Linked DNA regions of Homo sapiens: all the other regions are linked to region 2. The links are contacts of gene promoters, found by promoter capture Hi-C in blood cells and fetal thymus (Javierre and others, 2016). All regions are on one chromosome and are shown on one strand. Each heading gives the region's core, a stretch centred on a gene start or on the middle of the fragment in contact. The rest is flanking DNA. Distances are from core to core; before and after follow the strand shown. Region 1 holds the start of MAP1S (microtubule associated protein 1S). Region 2 holds the start of JAK3 (Janus kinase 3). Region 3 has its middle 14 kb from the start of UNC13A.

The links. Contacts are between HindIII fragments. The CHiCAGO score rates a contact against its expected background, and 5 or more counts as called.
Region 1: a contact is called between the fragment with the promoter of MAP1S here and the fragment with the promoter of JAK3 in region 2, in 13 of 17 cell types (non-activated CD4 T cells, naive CD4 T cells, activated CD4 T cells and 10 more). The highest score is 10.1, in non-activated CD4 T cells.
Region 3: a contact is called between a fragment that was not itself captured here and the fragment with the promoter of JAK3 in region 2, in 1 of 17 cell types (total CD4 T cells). The highest score is 5.6, in total CD4 T cells.

Annotation. Positions count from the first base shown.
Region 1 is chr19:17,717,902-17,722,529 of GRCh38, reverse strand. It overlaps MAP1S (microtubule associated protein 1S), which reads right to left and starts at 3,050. Exons shown (of 7, transcript NM_018174.6): 1 at 2,910-3,050; 2 at 1,493-1,594. The coding sequence starts at 3,027. RefSeq lists enhancers at 1,859-2,008, 2,399-2,468, 4,519-4,628 and a silencer at 2,819-2,868. The HindIII fragment of the contact is 1,227 bases long and covers 2,056-3,282 here.
Region 2 is chr19:17,846,614-17,851,421 of GRCh38, reverse strand. JAK3 (Janus kinase 3) reads left to right here and starts at 3,440. Exons shown (of 24, transcript NM_000215.4): 1 at 3,440-3,476. The HindIII fragment of the contact is 7,731 bases long and covers 768-4,808 here.
Region 3 is chr19:17,700,077-17,704,638 of GRCh38, reverse strand. No RefSeq gene overlaps it. Among named protein-coding and RNA genes, the nearest start is that of UNC13A, 14 kb to the right of the region's middle. RefSeq lists a silencer at 3,053-3,280. The HindIII fragment of the contact is 7,500 bases long and covers 1-4,562 here.

The sequences.
Region 1 (4,628 bases), core at 1,801-4,300, 130 kb after region 2:
TGATCCACCCACCTCAGCCTTCCAAAGTGCTGGGATTATAGGTGTGAGCCACCATGTCAGGCCTAAGTTTATTTTTTTGAGACAGGGTCTCGCTCTGTTGCCCAGGCTGAAGTGCAGTGGCACAATCTTAGCTCACTGCAGCCTCTGCCTCCTGGGTAAAAGCGATCCTCCCTCCTCGGGCTCCTGAGTAGCTGGGACTACAGGTGTGCACCACCAGGTCCAGCTCATTTTTGCATTTTCAGTAGGGACAGGGTTTCACCATGTTGCCCCAGCTGGTTTTGAACTCCTGACCTCAAAAAATCCTCCCACTTTGACCTCCCAAAGTGTTGGGATTACAGGCGAGAGCCACCCCACCCAGCCTTAGCACGCTTTTTGCCACACAGGGATATTGCCCCATTCAGGTGGGGAAATCAAGGCATAAAGAAGGGAAGTGGCCACGAAGTTCACACACAGCAGACAGGATTTCCAGCTCCACTTTCTGCCCCATGAAGTGTCAGGAAGCCACAAGGACCAACTGGGACAATGAGACTACAGACACTTCCTTCCTCTCCAGCAGCAGCCGGGAGGTGACTCAAGAGACCATCAGGAGCCGGGGGCGGCTGCAGGCAACACCCAAGCCCTGCCTGCCCGCCTGCTGCTCTGCTCACCCTGGGTCACCCTAGAAGGGAGCCTCGTGCTGAGTTGGGCCCTTCTTGATCTCACTCCTTTTCAGTTCCCTGCCTACTGTATACCCAGGCCTGTGGCTGTGAACCAGTATCAGTCCCTTCCTGCAAGGGGCCCACACTCCATCTTCCAGGGCCTGCTCAGTGCCCCTCCACCTTCCAGATGTTTTTTGTTTGTTTGTTTGTTCTGAGACAGAGTCCCTCCCACTCTGTCACTCAGGCAGGAGTGCAGTGGCGCAGTCTCAGCCCCACTGTAACCTCTGCCTCCTGGGTTCATGTGATCCTCCCACCTCAGCCTCCCGAGTAGCTGGGATTAGAGGCGCCTGCCACCATGCCGTTATTTTTGTATTCTTAGTAGAGACAGGGTTCCTCCACGTTGGCCAGGCTAGTCTCCAACTCCTGACCTCAAGTGATCCGCCCGCTGCGGCCTCCCAAAGTGCTGAGATCAGAGGCGTAAGCCACCGCGCCCGGTTCATTCTAGATGTTCTGTCCACTGCTGGGTCTTGACTGGGGCCCTTCCCTTCCACTGGACACACCAGTCATAGCAGTTTCTCATCAAAAAACCCCCTCCTCAGAGATCTCCCTGCCTCTTCCCCCTTCAATGCCAATTTCCTCATCTGTCAATCAGGGACAAAAACACCAGTTCCTGCACTGTGGGTTGCTGAGGACTGAGGGGGTTATCACTGGGTCACGGCTTGCATTTGAAAGGTCTCAACTGTATTATTACTGTTGTTATTTATAGCTGCATCCCACCCCCCATGCCTGGCACACGGCTGGCACTTCCCCAAATAACAAGAGGTAGGGAGCAGTCAGGGGGACCCCAGCCTCACCTTTCACAATGCTGGAGAAGGTGGCAGAGTGTCGGGACACAAAGACCTTGAGCTGTTCATCAAGGTTGCAGACGCCAGGATCGACATCCCAAGACCGGATGCCTGGTGGGAAGGAGGGATCAAGGCGGGAGTTCAGCCGGGCCCCCCAGCTCCCAGAATATTTCAATAATTAGCACCCCGTGGGTGGGGAGCGCCCCAGCCTCCTCCCTTCACTCACAGCTTGGAGACTCAGAAGTACCCAACACCTTCAGGTCTCGCTGCAGCTGAGCCAGGGGACCCAGAGCACACCTCATCATTTTACACACAAGATTCATCAGCAACAAAGCCTCCACCTCCTCCATCTCCACCTCCTCGCTGCTCCTATGCCCTGCCAGACCCGTTTCCACTCACCGCCCTTGCAACAGCTGTTTCCCCTGCCTGGAAGTCCATCCCCCTGCCGCCCCCACCTGTTCCTACTGGCCAGGGGGCCCTTCCCCCTCAGCACCTTCGGGTGCTAAGACTGACTGTCCTCTCAGTCCCTTGCAGCCTTCTCATCCTTCCTGACACCATGTGAGCTGGAAGCTTGTTCCATCTCCTCACTCGCTTTGGGTCCATCCCCAAACCAGACCTGTGTTGGCAGGGCTGAACCTGTCTATCATCCCGGCCATATCCCTGTGTCCACTGCCCAAAGGCCTGGCGCATAGCAGGTGCTCACTAAACACTCCTCAAGCACATGAACCGAGGTGCGTGTTCCTGTCCCATTTTACATGCAATGAAACGCCAGGTCCAGATGCTCCGAGGGATGGGGGATGAACACCCATCTCCACCCACGGGCGCATCACGCCCGCCAGTCCCACTGAGCCAAGTGGCTGCAGGTGAACCTGGCAGGTGCGCCTATGACTCACCTCCCTAGGTGCCAAATCCCCAGGGCAGGCCGCACCCGCCCACACCCCAATTAGCAGCTCCTTGTGAGGCAACAGAAAGCGGGCCCCGGGGCTCCAGGCCCAGCCTCCCCCATATCTGCTTCTCCCTCCGGGAGATCTCTATCTAAGCTGCTAAGACCTGGAGATCCAAAGCGACCCCAGGCCCTACCCCCGGGCAGGCCAGTCAGGCGGGAAGCGGAGCCGTGGTCCAACTGCAAGGGTCCCCAAGCCCAGGCCCGTGTCCCCTCCCCTATCTTCACCCGGAGTTGGGGCGGGGCAGCCCTGCCCAGCCCAGGCCCGGATGCCACTTTCTCCGCGGGCACCCACGGGCACCCCGCCTTTGCCCGCGTCGTGCGCCTAACGGTGAAGGGGACCCAGCCCCAGGCCCGCGACCCCCGCCCCGGAGCCCGGGTCCCGCCGCCGCCGCCGCCGCCGCCCCACCCCGCCGGCCCCGGGCCCAGACGCGCGAACGGGCCCGCCTCCCGGGCTCCCGCGGGCCCCCAGGCCAGCCCGACCTCTTTCGAGCTCCTCCAGGACGTAGGTGAGGAGCCCCGGGCTCCCGAACTCGCTGCCCACCACGAGGAGCAGTGAGCTCGGAGCCGCGGCAGCCCCAGATCCAGCCACCGCCGCCATCTTCGGGCCGCCCCGGCGTTCTCGGCGCCCGCCCCGCAGGCCCCGCCTCTTAAAGGGGCCGCACCGGAAGGGCTGAAGACCCCGCCCGGAACCACCGCATCCCCGCCCCTTTTTGTCGACCACTTACAGGCCCTTTGAGGTCGTGGAGAGCAGGGGATGCGGGCGTTAAAGGGGTTGGCCGACTCCTGGGTGTCCGCTTGGGAGCCGCCTCTCCCAAGTGACCATTCATTCATTTTTTTTTTCATTGAACAAGCTTTGATTGCGTGCCTGCTGCATGTAGGTCAGAACTCCTGCCCTCCAGGAACTCACATCACATGACAGTAGGCCGCATCAGAACCCGGTGCCTATGGATGCTCCCAGCTCTCTAGGTCAGGGCTTGAACAGAGAAAAGAAATCTATCTTGTAGGTAGGGCTTTAAGGGATGTGTAGGAGTTTGCCTTGTGGGTGGTGGGGCAAGAGCTGGTGAGGCAGAAGTTTACAGCAGGTGCAAAGTTTTAGAGGTAAGAAAGTACATGTGTGTTTGGGACACAACCGGAGCACTCTGGGCCTGCCTGGAACAGGGCAACACTTATTCTGCACCTCCTGTGCGCCAGGTATTTTATTGCATTAGCTCATTACATACAAGCACAAAGCGATGAGTTTTGTGCTTGTATGTAGGCACAGATGAGTAGGCACAGTTACTGTGGTCACTTTCAGAGGAAAGAAGAGGAAACTGAGATTTGGAGGGATGAAGTCACCAGGCCTGTAAGTGGTAGAGCAGGTTTGAACCCAAGTGGGTCTTACTCTAGATCCAGCCTGTGCAAGGGACTGCCTGCGTTGCGCACATGGGTACCTCTCTCTCCCCAGATAATCCTCTTTAGGCTTTTCTTTCCTTTCCTCCCCTCTCTTCTCCTCTCCTCCCCTCCCCTCCTCTCCTCTTCTCCCCTCCCCTCCCCTTCTCTCCCCTCTCCTCTCCTCTCCTCCCCTCCCCTCCCTTCCTCTCCCTCCCCTCCCCTCCCCTCCTCTCCCCTCTCCTCTCCTCTCCTTTCCTTTTCTTGAGATGGAGTCTCATTCTGCCGCCCAGGCTGGAGTGCAATGGCACAATCTCAGCTCACTGCAACCTCTGCCTCCCGGGTTCAAGCGATTCCCTTGCCTCAGCCTCCCAAGTAGCGGGATTATAGGTGTCCGCCACCATGCCCTGCTAATTTTTGTATTTTAGTAGAGATGAGGTTTCTTTTCTTTTCTTTTCTTTTCTTTTCTTTTCTTTTCTTTTCTTTTCTTTTCTTTTAGAGACAGAGTCTCGCTCTGTCGCCCAGGCTGAAGGGTAGTGGCGCGATCTCGGCTCACTGCAAGCTCCACCTCCCAGGTTCATGCCATTCTCCTGCCTCAGCCTCCCGAGTAGCTGGGACTACAGGCGCCCGCCACTGTGCCCAGCTAATTTTTTGTATTTTCAGTAGAGACGGGGTTTCACCGTGGTCTCGATCTCCTGACCTCGTGATCTGCCTGCCTCGGCCTCCCAAAGTGCTGGGATTACAGGCGTGAGCCACCGTGCCCGGCAGAGATGGGGTTTCACCATGTTGGCCAGGCTGGTCTCGAACTCCTGACCTCAAGTGATCCTCCTG
Region 2 (4,808 bases), core at 2,191-4,690:
TTTCTAGATGTTACTTATATAACGAGGATATTTTATCCATGAGTTCAATTTTGTTTCCAGTTACACTTTGATTGTATTTTATTCTTTGATTGTATTTATGGACTTCTTGTCAGCAGAAAAATCTGGGTGTTTGCATCACTGACGTGCCCCATTTTTCTCGGGCAAGTTCTGGGTTCTGTCCCCAGAACTTCCTTTTTTTAAAAAAAATTATTTATTTATTTATTTATTTTTTGATACGGAGTCTTGCTGTGTCGCCCAGGCTGGAGTGCAGTTGTGCGATCTCGGCTCACTGCAACCTCCGCCTCCCAGGTTCAAGTGATTCTCTTGCCTCAGCCTCCTGAGTAGCTGGGACTGCAGGCGCCCGCCACCACACCCAGCTGCGTTTTGTATTTTTAGTAGAGATGGGGTTTCACCAGGTTGGCAAGGCCGGTCTCGAACTCCTAACCTCAGGCGATCCGCCCGCCTCGGCCTCCCAAAGTGCTGGGATTATAGGCGTGAGCCACCGCGCCCGGCCAGAACTTCCTTTTAGAGCCTTCACATGCCCTTCTCTGGGGCTGAAGGTACCACTTTGGTCCTCACCCCAATCTCCTCTTACTTATTCTCAAAATATTGCAGAAACCATCACACTGGAGGTAGCAGAGACCCAGAAACTCACTGTACTTCCGGAAAGCAGAGGCTTCAGCCTCAGGCCAAGGATGAGAACATAAGGTTGCATTCCCGTCTGCTGAAGCCACCCAGGAAGTGAAAGAAAACACTACAACTAAGCTTCTGCTTGGCACTTCCTGCCGCAGGTCAGCTGTGGCTCCACTAAGCTCCACTAAGCTGAGGACATAATCTATATCTCTTTCCCTTGACCCACGCGGCCCTACCCACGCCATCAAATGAGTCTCAGCCCCCCGTGTCCCTGACATCCTGCTCTTCTCAGGAACACTGTGAATTCGTGAAGCCTCCAGGCCTTTGCCTGGGCTGTTCTGCCTGCCAGAACTGCCCACACTCCCACATTCTCAGGTCACTCTCTGGCTAGTCCCACTTGTTGTTGGATTTCAGAATCAAAGCCACCTCCTCCAGGAAGCCCTCCCAGATCCAGTCATCTCTCTTAGCAGACCGGTCCCAGGGGCAACTGATATAATTATTGGGCAATAGCTTGTTTATTGCCATCTCCCCTGCTGGACTGTCAGCTCCCCTGGACAGGGATTGGGTCTGCATTGTCCCCGATTCCCTGCACACAGGCTGTGTCCAATAAGCCTCTGGCTGATTGAACAGTTAAGATCAACAAAATACTTACCAAACCATTTTGTGTTAAGACTTGTGATGGTGATACAGAGATGAAAAGTCTTTTTTTTTTTTTTTTTGAGACGGGATCTCACTCCCATTGCCCAGGCTGGAGTGCAGTGGCATGACCACAGCTAACTGCAGCCTCAACTTCCTGGGCTCAGGTGATCCTCCCACCTCAGCCTCCCCTAGTAGCTGGGACTACAGGCACATGCCACCACATCCAGCTTATTATTTTGTTGTTGTTGTATTTTTTGTAGAGACAGGGTTTCACCATGTTGCCCAGGCTGGTCTCGAACACCTGGGCTCAAGCCATCCTCCTGCCTGAGCCTCCCAAAGTGCTGAGATTACAGGTGTGAGCCACTGTTCTTGGCCACAACTTCTTAAATCTATTCCTTTTTTTTTTTTTGAGACAGAGTATTGCTCCGTCGCCCAGGCTGGAGTGCGGTGGCACAATCTCAGCTCACTACAACCTCCGCCTGCCTCCTGGGTTCCAGTGATTCTCCTGCCTCAGCCTCCCAAGTAGCTGGGATTACAGGCACATGCCACCACGCCCAGCTAATTTTTATATTTTTAGTAGAGATGGGGTTTCACCATGTTGGCCAGGCTGGTCTCGAACTCCTAGGCTCAAGCAATCTTCCCACCTGGGCCTTCCAAAGTGCTGGAATTACAGATGTGAGCCACTGTACCCGGTCACCACTTCGTCAGTCTATTCCTGAAGCTCTACTTCCGGGGCTCTGATCCTATTATCCTAAGAACACTGGCCCAAGTCTCTGCATTTGGATGCTGCCCGGGCCTTCTGCCTCTTCTATTTATAACAGCTCCTACTTCCAACTCTCCTGTGGCTCCAGATTATGCTCCAGGCAAAACCCACCCTTCTCCCAAAGACCCTGATCCCCCTGTCCCCCCACGATCTTGCCCCTGTTGACCGCCCTGCAGTCCCCTTCCCCCTCATCTCACCCCTGCCCCTGGCCTCCTGACTGCTCTTCAAGCTGCTAAGATCACTGCCCTCTCAAGGTCTTTGCCCATCCTGTGCCCTCCTCCTGGAGCACCCTTTCCCTGGCCAGCTCCCTGTCCTGCCTCGGGTCCAAGTTCCAGTCTGTGCCTGTCCTGACACCCTGGCTTTCTTTGTTGTCTGCGATGATTTGGCTCCTTCATTTGCTCATTGTCTCAGCGCCAGATCACAAGTTCCAAGAGGCCAGGCCGGATCCACCTGGTTTTTTAGGGCTGGGCCCAGGGCACCACAGGCAGAAATGGGTCATTATCTCTCCCTGAGTCTTTTCTTTTTTTTTTAAACGAAGTCCCGCTCTGTTGCCAGGCTGGAGTGCAGTGGCGCCATCTCGTCTCACTGTAACATCCGCCTCCTAGATTCAAGCAATCCTCCCACCTCAGCCTCCTGAGTAGCTAGGATTACAGGCATCACCAGGCCTGGCTAATTTTCCTGTTTTTAGTAGAGACAGGGTTTCATCATGTTGGCCAGGCTGGTCTCAAACTCCTGACTTCAAGTGATCCGCCCGCCTCAGCCTCCCAAAGTGCTGCGATTACAGGCCACCACGCCTGGCTAATTTTTGTATTTTTAGTAGAGACGGAGTTTCGCCATGTTGGCTAGGCTGGTCTCAAACTCCTGACCTCAAGTAATCGCCCGCCTCAGTCTCCCAAAGTGCTGGGATGACAGGCGTGAGCCACTGCGCCCAGCGTCTCCCTGAGTCTTAAGGGAGAAATACCTCAAAGAAGAACTTGACCTTCCTCTGGGGCAACTTCCCTGCTTCCCTCCTGGGCAAATCCAGCCAGGTTTCCTTCCCTGGGTGCAAAATTAGTTCCACTGGGTGCCCAACTCACACATGCTACAGATGGGTAAACTGAGGCAATAAGGGCCGGGCCAGAGCCCCACTTAACAAGTGGGTCTAGAGTCGGCTGAGCCCCTGGTGTGACCCAGACCCTTCTCTGTGCTATCATCAGTTCCTTTGGCTTAGGGGTCTCCAGCAGCCTGTCTGAACGGGGCGGCTGATGCAGAGGCTTCCGGAACTTTCTGCCCCTCCTTGCCCGCCTCCCCGCCCCCAGCTCCCGCAGGGCCCTGACTTTCGGTAAATGACAGTGGCTCAGGAAACCAAGGGGCCCACACAGGAAGGAGCCGAGTGGGACTTTCCTCTCGCTGCCTCCCGGCTCTGCCCGCCCTTCGAAAGTCCAGGGTCCCTGCCCGCTAGGTAAGAGCTGGCGATGCCGCAGGGCTCGGCCCAGACACTGGGGGAGGATGGTGGTGGCGGGGGATGGCTGGGCTGGGGCAGGGTGCTGCCAGGGCAAAGGCTAGCTCGCCTTCCAGGCCTCGGAGGAAAGCTGCGAGGCAGACGTGAGCCGAGACTCGCATCCTCCGATCGCTCGCTTCTCTGGGCTTCGGCTTTGACTAAGGCCGGGAGATGCCTGCCTTGCGGACCTGGAGGAGTCATTGCGCATGCGCGACGGGGGCTGCGGGGTTGGGGGTGGGGAGGAGGGATTGGGAAGGAGGGATTGGGGGGCGGAGTTCCCAGCCCCTACCCTCCAGGCCTTCCCGGTCCAGACACAGGGTACCCGACCATACCAGGATGCAGAACGTTGAGGATTATAAACAGGGGATGCCGAGGCGGGAGGATAGCTTGAGGCCAGGAGTTCAAGGCCAGCCTGGGCAACATAGCCAGACCTCCATTTCTACAAACATTTTTAAAAAACCAAAAAAACTATGGCGTTTTCTGGGACCAAACATCACCTCTGACTTTTCATTTTTTTTTGTTACAGTATTACAGAATAATAATATTCTGTTAAGATTTTTTTGTTGTTTTGGAGATGGGAGTCTTGCTATGTTGTTCAGGCAGGTCTCTAACCCCTGGCCTCAAGCTATCCTGCTGCCTCAGCCCCCTGAGTAGCTGGGATTGCAGTGGGGCGCCACTGCCACTGAAGCCTTATTTTAAACTCGACTGGGGCTGGGCACAGTGGCTCATGCCTTTAATCCCAACACTTTGGGAGGCTGAGGCCAGCGGATCACTGGAGGTCAGGAGTTCGAGATCAGCCTGGTCAACATGGTGAAACCCTATCTCTACTAAAAACACAAAAATTAGCCAGGTTTGGTGGCGGGTGCCTGTAATTCCAGCTACTCAGGAGGCTGAGGCAGGAGAATCGCTTGAACCTGGGAGGTGGAGTTTGCAGTGAGCCGAGATCATGCCACTGCACTCCAGCCTGGGAGACAGAACAAGAATCCGTCCTCCCCCCTACAAAATAAATAAATAAATAAAAAGGCTGGGCAATGTGGCTCACGTGTGTAATCACAGCACTTTGGGAGGCCAAGGCAGGCGAATCACCTGAGGCCAGGAGTTTGAGACCAGCCTGGCCAACATGGTGAAACTCCGTCTCTACTAAAAATACAAAAATTAGCTGGGCGCTGTGGTGCGCGCCTGTAATCCCAGCCACTTGGGAAGCTGAGGCATGAGAATCGCTTGAACCCAGGAGGCAGAGGCTACAGTGAGCCAAGATCGTGCGACTGCACTCCAGCCTGGGTGACAGTGCGA
Region 3 (4,562 bases), core at 564-3,063, 150 kb after region 2:
AAGTGATTCTCCTGCCTCAGATTCCCGAGTAGCTGGGACTACAGGCGCCACCACACCCGGCTAATTTTTGTAGTTTTAGTAGAGACGGGGTTTCACCATGTTGGCCATGTTGGGCTCGAACTCCTGACCTCAAGTGATCTGCCCGCCTTGGCCTTCCAAAGTGCTGGGATTACAGGCATGAGCCACCATGCCCGTGCCCTACCCACACCCGCCCCCCACCCCCCACCCGGCGCCACCTTAAAAAAAGTTTTAAACTGTCATTTTAGGAGATTTAGGGGAAGGAGAGCCAGTAGAGTGCAGAGGTTAAGGGCCTCAGCTGGGCTTCCTAAATTCAAATCCAAGCTCTGCCACTCCCCTGATGTGTGACGTTGGGTGAGCAACTTAACGTTGTTGTTCTCAGTTTCCCCATCTGCAAACTCTATTATGGGGATTAAATGAGTGCTTGTAGAGTTCTGTTCCATGTCTGGCACACTGCAGGCACATGTCAAATAAGTTAACCTCCGTCAGAGGGTCACAGAGGGTCCCTGGTTCCCCTCTGCTCCCAGCCCTGGGATGGCCTAATGGCTTATGCTGCCCCCAGCTGGCCACTCTGGGAACTTTGGGCTGAGGCCCCCTCTCTGAGTCCGGAACCTCGCCTCCATTGGGTCTGAACCTATTACGTTCCTTTGTCTGCCTTTATTTCCTGCCTCCGTCTCCTCCTCTTGACCAATCCAATCACTTTTGTTTATGATCCATCCAATCCCATCCAACCACTCCAGGCCCATCCAGTCATTTTGCAGCCTAGTGTTATTTCCACCCTACATCCCTGCAGGGCAGGGCCTGGAACTTTCAAAAGATTGATGTTGCCTTTGTCCCATTTAATTCTCTGGGAAACCATTATTATTAATTATTATTATTATTATCTGTTGTCGTTGTTATTGTTGTTGTTTTTGAGACAGAGCCTCACTCTGTTGCCCAGGCTGGAGTACAGTGGCGCGATCTCGGCTCACTGCAGCCTCTGGCTCCTGGGTTCAAGCGATTCCCCTGCCTCAGCCTCCCGAGTAGCTGGGATTACAGGCGCCCGCCACCACGCCCAGCTGATTTTTAAACTTTTAGTAGAGATAGGGTTTCACCATGTTGGCCAGGCTGGTTTTGAACTCCTGACCTCAGGTGATCTGCCCGCCTTGGCCTCCCAAAGTGCTGGGATTACAGACTTGAGCCACCGCACCTGGCAGAAACCATTATTTTTTATCCTCATTTTATAGGCGATAAGCCAAGTTTGCCCTCATCGATTTCTCTGCCCCAGGCAGCCTGACAGCTACAATTAAGTTCAATAAGAGGTCCAATCTCAGAGCCTTTGCACACACCCTGCCCTCGGCCAGGAATGTCCTTCCTCCAATTCCCTGTGCTGAGCGAGATCCTCCTTGCTCGCTGGACCCTTGACCTTGGCAAAGAAGGAGCCGCAGAGAAAAAAGGGCAAGAGAAGATACAGACAGCACCGGCATAATTAAGTGGAGGGATGAGAAGGCTCAAATCAATAGCTTTGGAATTAGCTGAGCTGTTGGCTGGAAGAAAATGGGGCACCAGAGCTTAAAAATTAATTGGATCCGAGTGCTCAATGGTGAACGTTGAAATGCCCCTTTCATCATTATGATTATTATCATCATCATTATTATTATTTTGAGATGGGGTCTCACTCTGTTGCACCCAGGCTGAAGTGCAGTGGCGTGATCTCGGCTCACTGCAGCCTCTGCCTTTGAGGTTCAAGTGATTCTCCTGCTTCAGCCTCCCAAGTAGCTGGGACTGACTACAGGCAGGCGCCACCACGCCTAGCTAATTTTTTTTTGTATTTTTAGTAGAGACGGGGTTTCACCATGTTGACCAGACTGGTCTGCAGCTCCTGACCTCAGGTGATCCGTCCACCTTGGCCTCCCAAAGTGCTGGGATTACAGGCGTGAGCCACCACACCTAACAGAAACGTCCCCTTTCAGATCAGCGCGAGATGGGCAAGGGTGTGGATCCAAACTACGTTCATTGAATGAATGAACGATTACACAGACGTCTGCATTGCAGAAACGGCCTATTCTGAGAGTTACTCCAGACCCACTTCACGTCCCAGCCTTGTCCCCCTCCCCCGCCCCGCTGCCTGCTGCCCCAAACTCTCAGGAACTCAGTCTCCCCATCTATAAATGAGCACTTGACTGTAATCCCAGCACTTTGGGAGGCCGAGGCGGGTGGATCACGAGGTCAGGAGATTGAGACCATCCTAGCCAACACGGTGAAACCCCATCTCTACTAAAATACAAAAAAAAAAAAAAAAAAATTAGCTGGGCATGGTAGTCCCAGCTACTCGGGAGGCTGAGGCAGGGGAATTGCTTGAACCCAGGAGGCAGAGGTTGCAGTGAGCCAAGATTGCGCCACTGCACTCCAGCCTAGTGACAGAGTGATACTCCATCTCAAATAATAAATAAATAAATAAATAAATAAATAAATAAATAGGCACTTGAGAGAAGAAGAGGAGCACCTATGGTAAGCCCAAGGACACTGAATTCCATGTTCCCTGCAGGTAGCATTCCTGCTGACCTGATAACAGGGACTGGCGTTGGGCATGGACAGAGTTGTAAAGGGTGGACCCCTGGGTGTGATGTCTTGGCTTTGATAGTCCTGGAAGAGCAGGGTGTCCCTTGACCTTGTATCTATGCCCTTGCCCCAAATAGCCACACCTCATTGCGTGTTGTCGACTATCCCATTGGTGTCTCCAGCCTGCATCTCCCCAGAGCTCCAGGCCTCAGTATCCAATGGCATTGGATATTTCCACTGAGTGCCTTGCAGGCATTTCACACTCACAAGGCCAAAACCTGGCTCTTAGAATAGTTACTCGCCCTGAGATCTGCCCCTTCTCCATCCTGTTGGTGCCTCCACTATCACACAGTAGCCTGGGTCCTGATTCCTGGATACGCTCTTTATTTTATTTTATTTTATTTTTTTTGAGATGGAGTCTTGCTCTGTTGCCCAGGCTGGAGTGCAGTGGCGCCATCTCGGCTCACTGCAAGCTCCACCTCCCAGGCTCATGCCATTTTCCCACCTCAGCCTCGTGAGTAGCTGGGACTACAGGCGCCCGCCACCATGCCTGGCTAATTGTTTGTATTTTTAGTAGAGACGGGGTTTCACTGTGTTAGCCAGGATGGTCTCGATCTCCTGACCTCGTGATCCACCTGCCTCGGCCTCCCAAAGTGCTGGGATTACAAGCGTGAGCCACCGCGCCCGGCCCTCTTTATTTTATTTTTTTAAGAGACAGGGTCAGCCGAGCGTGGTAGCTCATGCCTGTAATCCTAGCACCTTGGGAGGCTGAGGCAGGCAGATCACTTGAGGTCAAGAGTTCAAAACCAGCCTGGCCAACATGGTGAAAACCTGTCTCTACTAAAAATACAAAAAACTAGTGGGGCGTGGTGGCGGGTGCCTGTAATCCCAGCTACTCAGGAGGCTGAGGTACAAGAATCGCTTGAACCTAGGAGGCGGAGGTTGCAGTGAGCCGAGATTGTGCCACTGCACTCCAGCCTGGGCAACAGAGGGAGACTCTGTCTCAAACAAACAAAACAAAACAAACAAACTAAAAAAGAGACAGAGTCTCACTCTGTCACCTAGACCCAGGCTGGAGTGCAGTAGTGCAGTCATAGCTCACTGCAGCCTCCATCTCCTTGGCTCAGGCAGTCCTCCCACTGCAGCCTCCTGAGTAGCTGGGACTACAGGCACACACCACCATGCCCAGCTCATTTAAAAATTTTTGTAGAGATGGGGTCTCACTCTGTTGCCCAGGCTGATCTCAAAATCCTGGTCTCCCTCAAGGAATCCTCCCGCCTCGGCCTCCCAAAGTGCTGGGATTACAGACATAAGCCACTGCACCTGACCTGGACTCATTCTTGTCCCTTCTCTTTCCTTACCCTGCATGTTCAGTGCATCAGCAGGTCCTGCAGTCTCCGGCTCCAGAATGAAACTGAGCCTCCCTGAGCTCCTAAGGGGCCTGCTGTATCTTGTGTGGATGCTGTCCTGGCTCCCTGCCACCTACACTCCTGCCCCCAGCCATCCTTGCTCCCCTAGGGAGCCCCAGATGGATTCTTAAAATCATAAAGCAGGCCGGGAGCGGTGGCTCACGCCTGTAATCCCAGCACTTTGAGAGGCCAAGATGGGCAGATCACGAGGTCAGGAGATCGAGACCATCCTAGCTAACATATGAAACCCCGTCTCTACTAAAAATACAAAAAAATTTAGCTGGGCGTGGTGGTGGGCACCTATAGTCCCAGCTACTTGGGAGGCTAAGGCAGGAGAATGGCGTGAACCCGGGAGGCAGAGCTTGCAGTGAGCCGAGATCGCGCCACTGCACTCCAGCCTGGGCGACAGAGCGAGACTCCATCTCAAAAAAAAAAAAATCATAAAGCAGATCACGCCCTTCCTCTGCTCAAAGCCCTCCCGTGGCTCCCTATTACCCTCATAGTATAGCCCACACTCTTTCCTGTGATCAGGAGGCCTGGCATAGTCTGTATCCCTGCTGACCTGCCCCCCTCCCCGCCCCCGACTCCATCCCT